2 separate regions of the Homo sapiens genome follow, and region 1 is linked to region 2. Evidence: promoter capture Hi-C in 16 types of primary human blood cells and fetal thymus (Javierre and others, 2016). All regions are on one chromosome and are shown on one strand. Each heading gives the region's core, a stretch centred on a gene start or on the middle of the fragment in contact. The rest is flanking DNA. Distances are from core to core; before and after follow the strand shown. Region 1 holds the start of TMEM220 (transmembrane protein 220). Region 2 holds the start of ELAC2 (elaC ribonuclease Z 2).

Region 1 (5,739 bases), core at 1,691-4,190, 2.3 Mb after region 2:
CTTCCGTGTCTCTGCAAAGCCTGGACAAACCTATAGCAGGAGGTTTGCAAGGATTTCACACATTGCCTTAACTATTGAATCATGACTTTACAAGTCATCATTCTTTGTTGCAAATTACAAAAACCCAATTCACACGGGCTTATGTAAAGAAGAGACTCTGTTGGTTGTGAGATTCTTCCATTTTCAGGCATGGCTGGATCCAGGCTTTTAAACTTCACCTGCAGAAAGCCTTTCTCCCTGTGAGGCTTTCTCCTGACAGCTCCAGGCTCACATTCTACCAGCTCTACACATTCATCACAAAGAAAGCTTCTCTTTAATAGTGTGAGTAGGATTGCCAGATTTAGCAAATATTTGGAACACATCATTGATGATCCAAAATTCAGTTCAACTGAGGTTGTCCTTTACTGACAACCTAAGTCCCATATAGGTCCTAGGATTGAATCTGGGCAATTTGGATCCTATACCCATCCTAGACCCAATCACAGTGGTCAACAGAATGGGATATGTCAGCTGGCAGGCCAAAGTCACCTGCCTATCCCCAAAAGGAGGGGAGCACGGTCAACCCTGTAGTCCACATCCACCCATAGTGCATGTGGTAATCCACAGTACTAAAGACACTGATCCTCGAAGAAAGGGGACTGAACCCTGCAAAGGCAAAACCAACAGACGCTCACTAAGGTGACTTTGAAAGTCCCAGCCGGGTGCAGTGGCTCATGCCTGTAATCCCAGCACTGTGGGAGGCCGAGGCAGGCAGATCATGAGGTCAGGAATTCGAGACCAGCCTGGCCAATATGGTGAAACTCCATCTCTACTAAAAAAAATACAAAAATTAGCCCAGCATGGTGGTGGGCGCCTGTAGTCCCAGCTACTCTGGAGGCTGAGGCAGGAGAATCACTTGAACCCAGGAGGCAGAGGTTGCAGTGAGCTGAGATCGTGCCACTGCACTCCAGCCTGGGCAACAGAGCAAGACTTTGTCTCAAAAAAATAGAAATAAAAAAAGAAAGTCCCAGACAACAGTGAAAACTATAAAACTTCATGGTGGTTGTATGGCATTCAAGAGCTTAAAAGCACTTCCATGCCATTGTTTCCTTGTGGGTATTATAATCATTCCCTGTATTAATTTGCTAGGACTGTCCCAACAAAGTACCACAGTCTAGGTGGCTTAAACAACGGAAATTTATTTTCTCACAGTTCTGGAGGCTGGAAGTCCAAATTCAGGATGTTGGTAGGGTTGGTTTCTCATGAGGCCTCTCCCCTTGGCTTGCAGACGGCCGTCTTCTCCCTGTGTGCCCATGTGGTCTTCCCTCTGTAACTGTCCCCTCTTCGTATCAGGACACTAGTCATATTGGATTAGGGTCCACCCTATAACCTCATTTTAACTTAATCATCTCTGTCAAGTCCCTGTCTGCAAATGCAGTCCCATTTTGAGGCACTGGGGGTTAGGGCTTCAGCATATGAATTGGGGGTGCAGGGGGAATGCAAGTCAGCCCCTAGCACTCTCGCTCTCATTTTTTTCTTTTATGTAAGGAAAAGCACAGTGAGAATAGTCTTCGCTTGTTTCCAATCCCAGGGCTGATTTAGCTGTGGAACTCCACCCAGTGCTGGTCCCCGCTGTCCCCACCCCACCTCTGCAAACACGGGTGCCCACCCCCGCCAGCCGCCAGGCTCCCTGCCTAGTCCCGGCACGGGACCTTCACGGTCCCAGCACCAGGCACAGAGCAGACAACGTTCTTGAAATAAGTGTTTCGTGAAAAGAATGAAACTGAGAGGGAAAGAAAAAAAAAACTAGACAGTTTTAGGAGATTTAGCTCAAAGGAAAAGAGGACAGGCACAGAAGCTCCTGATTTGAAGCGATAAAGACTCTTTAGAACAGCAGAAATGAGGCCTATGGATGTGTAAATGAGCCCGGGGAGGAACTAAGCAGAAGGGCGAATTACAAAACAGAAAAAGACCAGACAGACTAGGGGAGAACAGTGAATATTTCAGTGTCTTCGGTTCATAAGAAATTCATGAGCAATTTTGGAAATTTTGTTGGTTTTGGTGGTGGGAGAGAATTGTAAATATGTATAATATGTAAATATCTTTTATAATAAAAGCCCATGAAGATAAATGAGCCTGTCTGCCGAAAAGCTGTGAGCCGTATAAGATGTTAATATAACTGTCGTCACTCTAGAAATTACCATAATGCTTACAGGGATTTGAAAGTTCCTGAGCTTTGGAAGGAAATGCATAAATACTAAACAGAACACACACACACACACACACACACACACACACACACACACACACATCTCTTTTTCTTTCTCTTTCTTATTTTTGTAAAAACAATTTTTATCCTTTTTTTTTTGAGGAGTCTCGCTTTGTTGCCCAGGCTGGAGTGCAGTGGCACAATCTGGGCTCACTGCAACCTCCGCCGCCCGGGTTCAAGCAATTCTCCTGCCTCAGCCTCCTGAGTAGCTGGGATTACAGGCTCCCGCCACCACGCCCGACTAATTTTTTCGTATTTTTAGTAGAGATACGGGGTTTCACCATGTTGGCCAGGCTGCTTTCGAACTCCTGACCTCAGGTGATCCGCCCACCTCGGCCTCCCACAGTGCTGGGATTACAGGCGTGAGCCACTGCGCCCAGCCCTTTCTTTCCTTCTTTCTTTTTCTTTCTTTCTCTTTCTTCCTCTCTCCCCTCCCGCCTGCCTTCCTTCCTTTTTTCCTTCTTTTTTTTCTTTCTTCTTTTTTTTTTTTTTTGTGAGGAAGGTAGCTTTAGTGAAAACAGGGTTTGGAGTTGAACCTATACGGGTTCAAATTCGACTTCCGTCCACCACCGAGACCTGCGCTCCCTGAGGGACTCGCTTTCCCATCCGCGAAACCAGGACGGCGCCGCCTACACCCCGCGGCGTTCGGGGCGGGCTGAATGGGTCGCTGAGTGGGGGCTACACCCACGCCCTTCGCTCCCCGCCCCCGGGCGGAGCGACGGCCACGGCAGTGTCCCCAAGGCACCGAAACCGAGGCGGGGGTCTCGGTCCCTCCGCGCAAGGAGGAAGGCGGACCGTACGTGGCAGGACTCACCGCCCCGCACGTGGCAGGACTCACCGCCCCGCGCCGTGTTCTCCGAGCCATGGCGCCAGCGCTGTGGCGGGCCTGCAACGGACTCATGGCCGCCTTCTTCGCGCTGGCGGCCTTGGTGCAGGTCAGGCGGCCGCGGTGGGAGGGGGACCCGCCCGGCTCCCAGCTCCGCCCCCTGGCCTAGCGGGCCGTGTAACTGACTAGCGGGCAGAGTCGCAGGGGCGCACAGTTAGTGGGGAGGACGGGACTTGGGCTTTCTGCTTGGGGAGCCCCCACTTTCTCCCCCGTCTAAGAGACGCGGATGTGTTCATGGAAGCGAGTCCCATACCAGGGCTCACACCCTGGAAGGGGCTGGTTCCGCGCGTGGAACTTCCCAGGGGACCTCAGAAGAAGCGGCCCTGGCTCCTGCGTTAACGTCCGGCCCGCGGACGACACTGAACATATCTCAGGGCCTAGGAGACGAAGCCGACCAAAACCCTTTATAGCATCATTAAACTTTTTAGTCGGCTTGGGGACCCCCTTCATAATCATTTCCCTCATTTCTTGAGACTGGTGGGGGTGGAGGGCCCTTAAAATACCCGTTCTGGGTTGGCGAGTCCTCTCCAGAGCTCCCGTGAAGGCTTTTCAAAAATGTGTGGCTGCCTGTTAAAAACATCTGTTGTGTCAGCCAGAAACCCCTTCACCCGTCCTCATCTGGACTATATCCTGTTCAGATTTTGTACCCTCGATGCCTATTGCAGTGTCTGGCACTTAACAAATTAATAAAAAATGTGCTTAAATGAATTTAAAAGGAATGGAACAGCACAGGATGTCTGCTAACACCTTGGTATTCTGGCGTTCCAGGTAAATGACCCAGATGCAGAGGTGTGGGTGGTGAGTATGAGCCGCTTCCAGGCTTTCCTCCGTTTGGAAGAATTGGGGAACGGCACAAAACACACGGTTTTATGTCTTTACCCCTCCTCCCTGCTTAATTTTCTGAGAAACTTAAAAATCAAACCCTTGGGAAGCGCTTTTTCCTAAAATATTAATAGGCAGGATCAGAGTTCTAATGTAATGTGTGTGTGAATTTCGAACTTTCTGGAAACAGGTCTTTCTGCAGTATTCCCTTTGGTTAGATGGCCCAACTGAGGACTTTCTTGAGGACCTAGAGTAGGCCTCTCAAGATCAGTTGAACAATTCCTTATGAGTTTCTAGCCAGACACTCAATGCAAACCTTTGACCGGAAAATAACAGGCTTAAGTTCTGAGGTTCTGCTAATTCAGTGACTTATATTTCTAGAAAGTATTAACTCCTGGCTGGGCAAGGTGGCTCACGCCTGCAATCTCAGCACTCTGGGAGGCCAAGGCGGGTGGATCACTTGAGGTCAGGAGTTCTAGATCAGCCTGAGCAACATGGTGAAACCCCGTCTCCACCAAAAAATACAAAAATTAGCCAGGCGTGGTGGCATGCGCCTGTAGTCCCCAGCTACTAGGGAAGCTGAAGCAGGAGACTCGCTGGAACCCAGGAGGCAGAAGTTGCAGTGTGCTGAGATCGTGCCACTGCACTCCAGTCTGGGCGACAGAGTGAGACTCCATCTCAAAAAAAAAAAAGCAAAGAAAAAAAAGAAAAAAAAAAAGCAAAGAAAAGTATTAAATCCTGTAAAACCTACAGTCTTCATATAAGCAAGGCTCTGATTTGAACCATTTGGAGGAGGGGGCCATTGTTCCATACATCTTCTAAATATCTTTTTTTTTTTTTCTTTTTGAGACGGAGTTTTGCTCTTGTTGCCCAGGCTGGAGTGCAATGGCGCAATCTAGGCTCACCGCAACCTCTACCTCCCAGGTTTGAGTGATTCTTCTGCCTCAGTGTCCCAAGTAACTGGGATTACAGGCATGCGCCACCACACCCAGCTAATTTTGTATTTTTAGTAGAGACAGGGTTTCTCCATGTTGGTCAAGCTGGTCTTGAACTCTCGACCTCAGGTGATCCACCTGCCTCAGCCTCCCAAAGTGCTGGGATTACAGACATGAGTCACCGCGCCCGGCTCTAAATATCTTTTATCTTCCAAAATATCTGAATTTTGCCCAGTTTCTCTCAATATAGATACACAAGACTGTACAGTACACCAAGGAGATGACTCTTAAGCTTTAGAATAATATTGACAGAGGAGCAACAAGGATGATGGTATCTGGAATTATAACATGAAATTCTATCCAGGTTTTGTTTTTTTAGTGCAGTAAAACCACATTCTGATATTTACTATCCAGATCAGTATGCCTCTGAATCAAATCAAACTGCCTTTGCCTTGGCACCCTGGTCCGTATCTTGAATTCCAAATATTATTTCCCTGCAGACAAGTCTCAGACATCCAGCTTAATGGTGAATTTCCAAAAGACTGCTGCGTATATTCACCTGCATGTCACACTGCTCCTCAGATATGCCCAAGGACCTACCTAGCATCTTTCCCTCCAAAATCTACTTATCCTGACTCACCCATTTCTGTTATCAGCAGAATCATTCTCTGAGTCATTCTTGTTCAGAATCTCAGTCATCTTTATCATCTCTCTGTTCCTTACCACTGCCTTGGAGAGCCCCTCAAAACACAAAATAAATTTGAGTCGGGCATGGTGGCAGGCATCCGTAGTCCCAGTTACTCAAGAGGCTGAGGCAGGAGGCTCACTTGAGCCCAGGAGTTCGAGGC
Region 2 (5,995 bases), core at 2,772-5,271:
AGGGCTCTAAACCAGAAACACCTCAGACCCAATGAAGACAAAAGCATCTATTATAATGTTTTCCTGTGTGCCCTGGGGCCCCATCCCTGTGCCCAAGACACCAACTTTCTGAGCTTTCTGAGAGCAAGACCTTGTTCATCTTTCTGTACACCAAGGTCTTAGTACAGCATCTAGAACCCTAGAAGAGTGTCTAGAAACTCGTGTGTGTGTGTGTGTGAGTGTACTGAATGAATCAATGAATGAATGTCTGTGTGGAGAAAGCCAGAGGGTATTTCAGACAGGGTCCCAAAGTATGTGTCCCTTGGTCAGATCACCAGATCTTGGGGATCGCAGGAACTGCCCCAGCTTTGTAGGTACAAAAGTCTGATTTATAAATATACCCAAGAGATGGCCACATATGAGTGGACTAGCTTATGGCAACCATACTTACAAGCGTGTACAGAAGAAAGTCAAGTTATAAATTATACCTTTGTAACTACAGGCATATGAAAATGTACTGCTCCCAGCATTCATTGGCCAGATTATTCTGCCTGGCAGCCATCTCTTCATAGGACCCCCCCGTAGGATAATCAGAGGGTTCCAAGAAAGCCTGGACTTTTCCACGTCAAGGGCTCTTTTGCAATGTGACTTTGATACTTCTCCCCTCAAGAGGTAGAATATAATTTTCCTCCCTTTGAATCTAGGTGGGTGCTGTCTGTGTCTTGCGTTGACTTCTGGGCCTAATTCTTCAGAAGCATTGCAATTTCATTTCATCCTTTTGGAGGCTGACCACCATTCAGAGAAGCTCAGCCTAACTACTGAATGTGGACAGTCTACATGGATGGAGAGGCAATGGGAAATGAACCAAAGCACCCCCAGCAGGGCCAGTACCCAGGACCCACACCTGTGAGTGTGAGGTTCCACTCCCATTGAGCCACCCAGCAGCCACTGCAAGGAGCAGAGACAGGCTATTCTTACTAAACACAACCGTGACCAACAAAAGGACTGAAAGTGATTTCAAGCCACAAGCTGCCCATATACAAAATGGATAACAAAAAGAGACTCAAAGCAAGAGGAAGTGGCTGTATTATATTAATTGTTAATATCACTGACTTCTGAAAGTCTGTCGCCTCGATTTCCACTTTCTCTGCTGTCCCGATGGTCAGGCTGCCTCTACTCCAGCAAGTCCAGAGACACTTTTCTGTTTCAGACTCTCTGAACTATCCTTTTGGAGGTACCAGTCACACCAATCCCCTTCAGAAAACACATACATTGTTGTCTTGATTCAATTTTAGGCCCTGCTTAGTTGTAAACTGAAAACCTCATTTAAGCTACTGGCTTGCTTCTAATTTCCTAGTATTTATTGTCTGCCACAAGCCAGACTCTGTCCTAGGAGCTAATGATACAGCAGAGGACCAGATAGACAAATCCCAGGCTCATGAAATTTACATTCCAGTATAACCTCAGATTGAAGAAGTACTAGCTATTGTCTTCATATACCAGGAATAAAAATATGACCCAAAGCATAAGTGCAGAAAGTACACTGGGCCCTAGAAACAACCTAAATAGCATCCAGCCCTCAGAATTTTATATAAGTCGATGACCAAAAGTGATTCCTCCTATAATTTTGAGATAAGTAGTTTGAGATTACCCAACAGATAGATATGCACATAGGGCACCAATAAAATAGAGGAACCAATGTATTTTTGTTTGTGAAATTTGATATATTTTTTAAAAGGATCAAAGCAGTCATCACAGGAAAAAAATCAGTATTTTATTTATTGCACTACACTTTTTAAAAGTAGTTTTAATGAATTAATTTTCTTTTTCTTTTTTTTTTTTTTTTTTTTTTGTAGAGAGTGTCTCACTCTGTCAGCCAGGCTGGAGTAAAGTGGTATGATCATAGCTCACTGCAGCCTCAAACCCCTGGGTTCATGTGATCCTCCTGTCTCAGCCTTCAGAGTAGCTGGGACAACAGGTGTGTGCCACCATGTCCAGCTAATTTTTACTTATTTTTAAATTTTTTAGTATTTTTTGGTAGAGATGAGGTCTCGCTTTGTTGCCAGAGCTGGTTTGTTTGTTTGTTTTTGAGATGGAATCTCCCTCTGTCACCCAGGCTGGAGTGCAATGGTGTGATCTTGGCTCACTGCAACCTCTGTCTCTGGGGTTCAAGTGATTCTCCTGCCTCAACCTCCCCAGTAGCTGGGATTACAGGCCCATGCAACCACTCCCGGCTAATTTTTGTGTTTTTAGTAGAGACGGGGTTTCATCATGTTGGCCAGGCTGGTCTCGAACTCCTGACCTCAGGTGATCCACCTGCCTCGGCCTCCCAAAGTGCTGGGATTACAGGCATAAGCCACCATGCCTGGCCACAGAGCAGGTTTTGAACTACTAGCCTGAAGCTATTCTCCCGCCTTGGCCTCCCAAAGTGCTGGGATTACAGATATGTGCCACGGTGCCCAGGCTTTAAGCAACTTTTAAAAACTATCATTTTTATTTCAAATACTTATGGAGATGGTGGTATGATAATCTTTTCAGTTTGTAACGCCCTCTAACTGTGTAAAGTAGATCTGAAGTGTTTTCCTGACCCTCACTGGGATGGTTATTTCAAGTACAAAACGTTTTCACACCGTGGGTGATAATCTTCCATAAAAAATTTCATATTTGAATGAAAACAGCTCAAGAAATACACTAATGAGCAAAAATATATGGGGAAAGAGGAACGTGTAGTTTTGACTTAACTGAAGAAACCAAGAGGAAACTGGTCTCCATATGAAAATGTGATCCTGGAAAGTCAGGTGTCAAGATTTTCGAGTAGGAATCTACATGACTTGAATCTCCCTTACTTCCTGAATAAAAGTGACATCTTTCAGTATTTATTTAAAAAAATCATATGTCAGTGGAGCTTCCAGGTAAATTATCTTTAAAAAATCATATTTGAGTGGAGCTTCCAGGTAAATTATCTTCCTCTTTTAAGGGAGCTCCCTGTATTTCTAGCGGCTTTAACTGATATCCCTTTCAGTGAGAAATCCTCATTAGCTACATAAGAGGGGACTGGGTGTTTTTTTCAAAAAGCTGGTATTGGGACATCTACCTCTGTGATGTCCCTGGTCAGCTATATTGTCTAGGAGTTGAAACATTTTGTATTAATTTTCTATCATTTACTGGGTGCCTCTTCTGTGACAGTGCCACTCAAAGGTCTATTGATATATTATCAGGTGACTGAATTCTATATTCTGAAGTAGGAGATACTGTTATTGCTGTTATTACATTTTACACATAAGAAAGCTGAGGCTCTGAGAGGTCAAGATCACGCAGCTAACAAATGAGCCAAGACTCTTGCTTTAGAGCTTGTCCTCTATTCTTGCTTTTCTTTCCAAAAAACACTACAATTTTTGTTTTGTTTTGTTTTGTTTTGAGACAGGGTCTCGAGGTGTCACCCAGGCTGGAGTGCAGTGGCGCGATTTCGACTCACCGCAACCTCCGCCTCCGCGCTTAAGCGATTCTCCTGCCTCAGCCTCCCAAGTAGCTGGGACTACAAGCTCGGGACACCACGTAAAAATGATCAAGTTCTAACATGTATGCATACGAATTACAATGGAAATAAAATTAGCAAAGCGCTTATGCTAATGCTCAATACAATTGATTTCCTCACATTTAATCCTCACAACCACTACAACCACCTCTAACTCAAGCTCTGAGGGACTGACGTGCCCGGAGGACACAGCTCTTATCTGGTGAGAACAGGAGCGTTTTAGCGAAACTCCAAACTCCTAGGTCCCGCCTTCCCCAGGAAGGCTTTTCCTGGCACTGTGCTTCCGGAAGTCCCGCCCCAGGAGAAAAACAGCTTCCGGAAAAAATTGCGGCCGGCAAACCGGAACAGAACTAGGGGCGGGGCCGCTTGAGACGCTCTAGTATTCCTCTACTCTATGGCCACTGTCAATTGACAAGTCCCGAGCGGTAAAGCTCCTTTCTATTGGATGAGCAGCCTCGCGTAGGCGGGAAGCTCGGTGCACGGCGCGCTGATTGGCTGGATCCGCCATGCGGAGCGGCTAGGTGGTGCACGGGAAACGCGGGCGTAGGTGACCGGCGGCTTTCTCAGTTTTGGTGGAGACGGGCGCATGTGGGCGCTTTGCTCGCTGCTGCGGTCCGCGGCCGGACGCACCATGTCGCAGGGACGCACCATATCGCAGGCACCCGCCCGCCGCGAGCGGCCGCGCAAGGACCCGCTGCGGCACCTGCGCACGCGAGAGAAGCGCGGACCGTCGGGGTGCTCCGGCGGCCCAAACACCGTGTACCTGCAGGTGGTGGCAGCGGGTAGCCGGGACTCGGGCGCCGCGCTCTACGTCTTCTCCGAGTTCAACCGGTCAGTCAACGAGCCACGCCCCGTCCCGCTGGGCCCTCAGTGCGGCGCAGCCTCTGAGCATCGGGGCACCTCCCAGGGCTTCGGCTTCCCTGCTTCACACATGTGGTTCACTGTTGCGGGGGTTCGTGGAGTTATGGTGGGTGGGAAATCCGAGATTCTTTGCATCCATGTGATTTCTGCGGATCTGTGAAGAACTTCAGGCCTGGGTCTGAGCGTCCTTTTCCCAACCCTTGGGCCCCGGCCTGGCTGTCAGCACTTTCGGAGCTCCACCCTCTTCCGTGCACCCCAAGGCCAGTGTGTCGTTGTTAGCGTGTGGGGTGGACAGATCTGGTGTGTAGCCGGTGGTGGAGAAAGGACTCATTTTGTCCTAGCACCCACACACACAGGCCCCCACTCCTCTCCACCTCTGCTAAGGAGGGCTCAAAACCCACCAGCATAAATGTGGCTCGGTAGTCCAACGTGGACTTTTAATTTTTTTTTCTTTTTTTTTTTTCCAGAGTCTACAATAAAACATCTAATTGGTGTCAGAGAGTTTACAGAATAAAACCTTCTGAATGTCTTGTGTAATGTTTGTCTTGTAGGTATCTCTTCAACTGTGGAGAAGGCGTTCAGAGACTCATGCAGGAGCACAAGTGAGTCAGTCTCTTGCTTTCGGAGGGGGAGTTGATTACGGGGCTTGAAAGCCGAAATGAGAGGCCAGTTGTTTTTTATAGCAAAAGTGGTCCTTGTTCTGTTCATGTTATCCTGTTTAAATGTTTTTTCATTCTTAGGTTAAAGGTTGCTCGCCTGGACAACATATTCCTGACACGAATGCACTGGTCTAATGTTGGGGGCTTAAGTGGTGAGTATATTCTTTGCAGTGTCAGAGGCTGGTGGGAAGTCTCTGGGATTTTAACCGGCTTTACCATTTTTCCAAGTCTGGGGTGGGCAGCTACTTTTTTTTTTTTTTTTTTTTTTGTCAGTGGCGTGATCTTGGCTCACTGCAACCTTTGCCTTCTGGGCTCAGGTGATCCCCTCACCTCAGCCTCCCAAATAGCTGGGACCACACGTGTGCCCCATCACACCTGGCTAATTTTTTTTGTATGTTTTGTAGCGACGGGGTTTTGCTATGTTGCCCAGGCTGGTCTCAAACTTCTGCGATCCTCCTGTCTCGGCCTCCCAGAGTGCTGGGATTACAGGCATGAGCCACCGCACCTGGCCTGGAATTCTTTTTATACCAGCCCAGTCAGCAGCAGCACAGAGCATTAAAAGCTGTGACTCAGGAGAACAGATTTTAATATGGATACCACCTCTTAAGTGTTACCATCCACTTAGTTTCTTGCGTTGCGGGGACAGAGATTTGTGGCAGTAAACTGGAGAGTCTAGCAGTGGTGATTACAGTTAATATGTTTACCGCAGACGCCATTGGCACATTGGCAGCCACACACATACCCACTGTCCAGATTACCCTGTCATTTATGTCTATCAACCGGAAGGTCAGGATTGTGTTGCAGCCAAATTGTGTGGGCTTGGTGGCATGGACCGGAAGGAGTGAAGTGTTAGACCAGTCTCCCTTCTCAGGGCTGAGACTAGGGTGAGGCACTTAGGGTGCCAGCCCTTCACTTGCATGATTCCTTACATTTTGCACACTGGGTGCCTTGCTGCTTCACC

Evidence for each region. The method cuts DNA at HindIII sites, captures the fragments that hold promoters and counts their contacts. A CHiCAGO score of 5 or more calls a contact.
Region 1: a contact is called between the fragment with the promoter of TMEM220 here and the fragment with the promoter of ELAC2 in region 2, in 1 of 17 cell types (M0 macrophages). The highest score is 5.2, in M0 macrophages.

The regions. Positions count from the first base shown.
Region 1 is chr17:10,727,224-10,732,962 of GRCh38, reverse strand. It overlaps TMEM220 (transmembrane protein 220), which reads left to right and starts at 2,940. Exons shown (of 6, transcript NM_001004313.3): 1 at 2,940-3,183; 2 at 3,903-3,932. The coding sequence starts at 3,112. It overlaps TMEM220-AS1 (TMEM220 antisense RNA 1), which reads right to left and starts at 3,186. Exons shown (of 4, transcript NR_073458.1): 1 at 3,063-3,186. RefSeq lists enhancers at 2,315-2,901, 2,902-3,488 and silencers at 2,882-3,121, 3,132-3,301. The HindIII fragment of the contact is 4,877 bases long and covers 309-5,185 here.
Region 2 is chr17:13,016,053-13,022,047 of GRCh38, reverse strand. ELAC2 (elaC ribonuclease Z 2) reads left to right here and starts at 4,021. Exons shown (of 24, transcript NM_018127.7): 1 at 4,021-4,345; 2 at 4,927-4,977; 3 at 5,116-5,186. The coding sequence starts at 4,101. RefSeq lists a silencer at 3,904-3,983 and enhancers at 4,504-4,563, 4,584-4,693, 4,205-4,705. The HindIII fragment of the contact is 8,738 bases long and covers 1-5,995 here.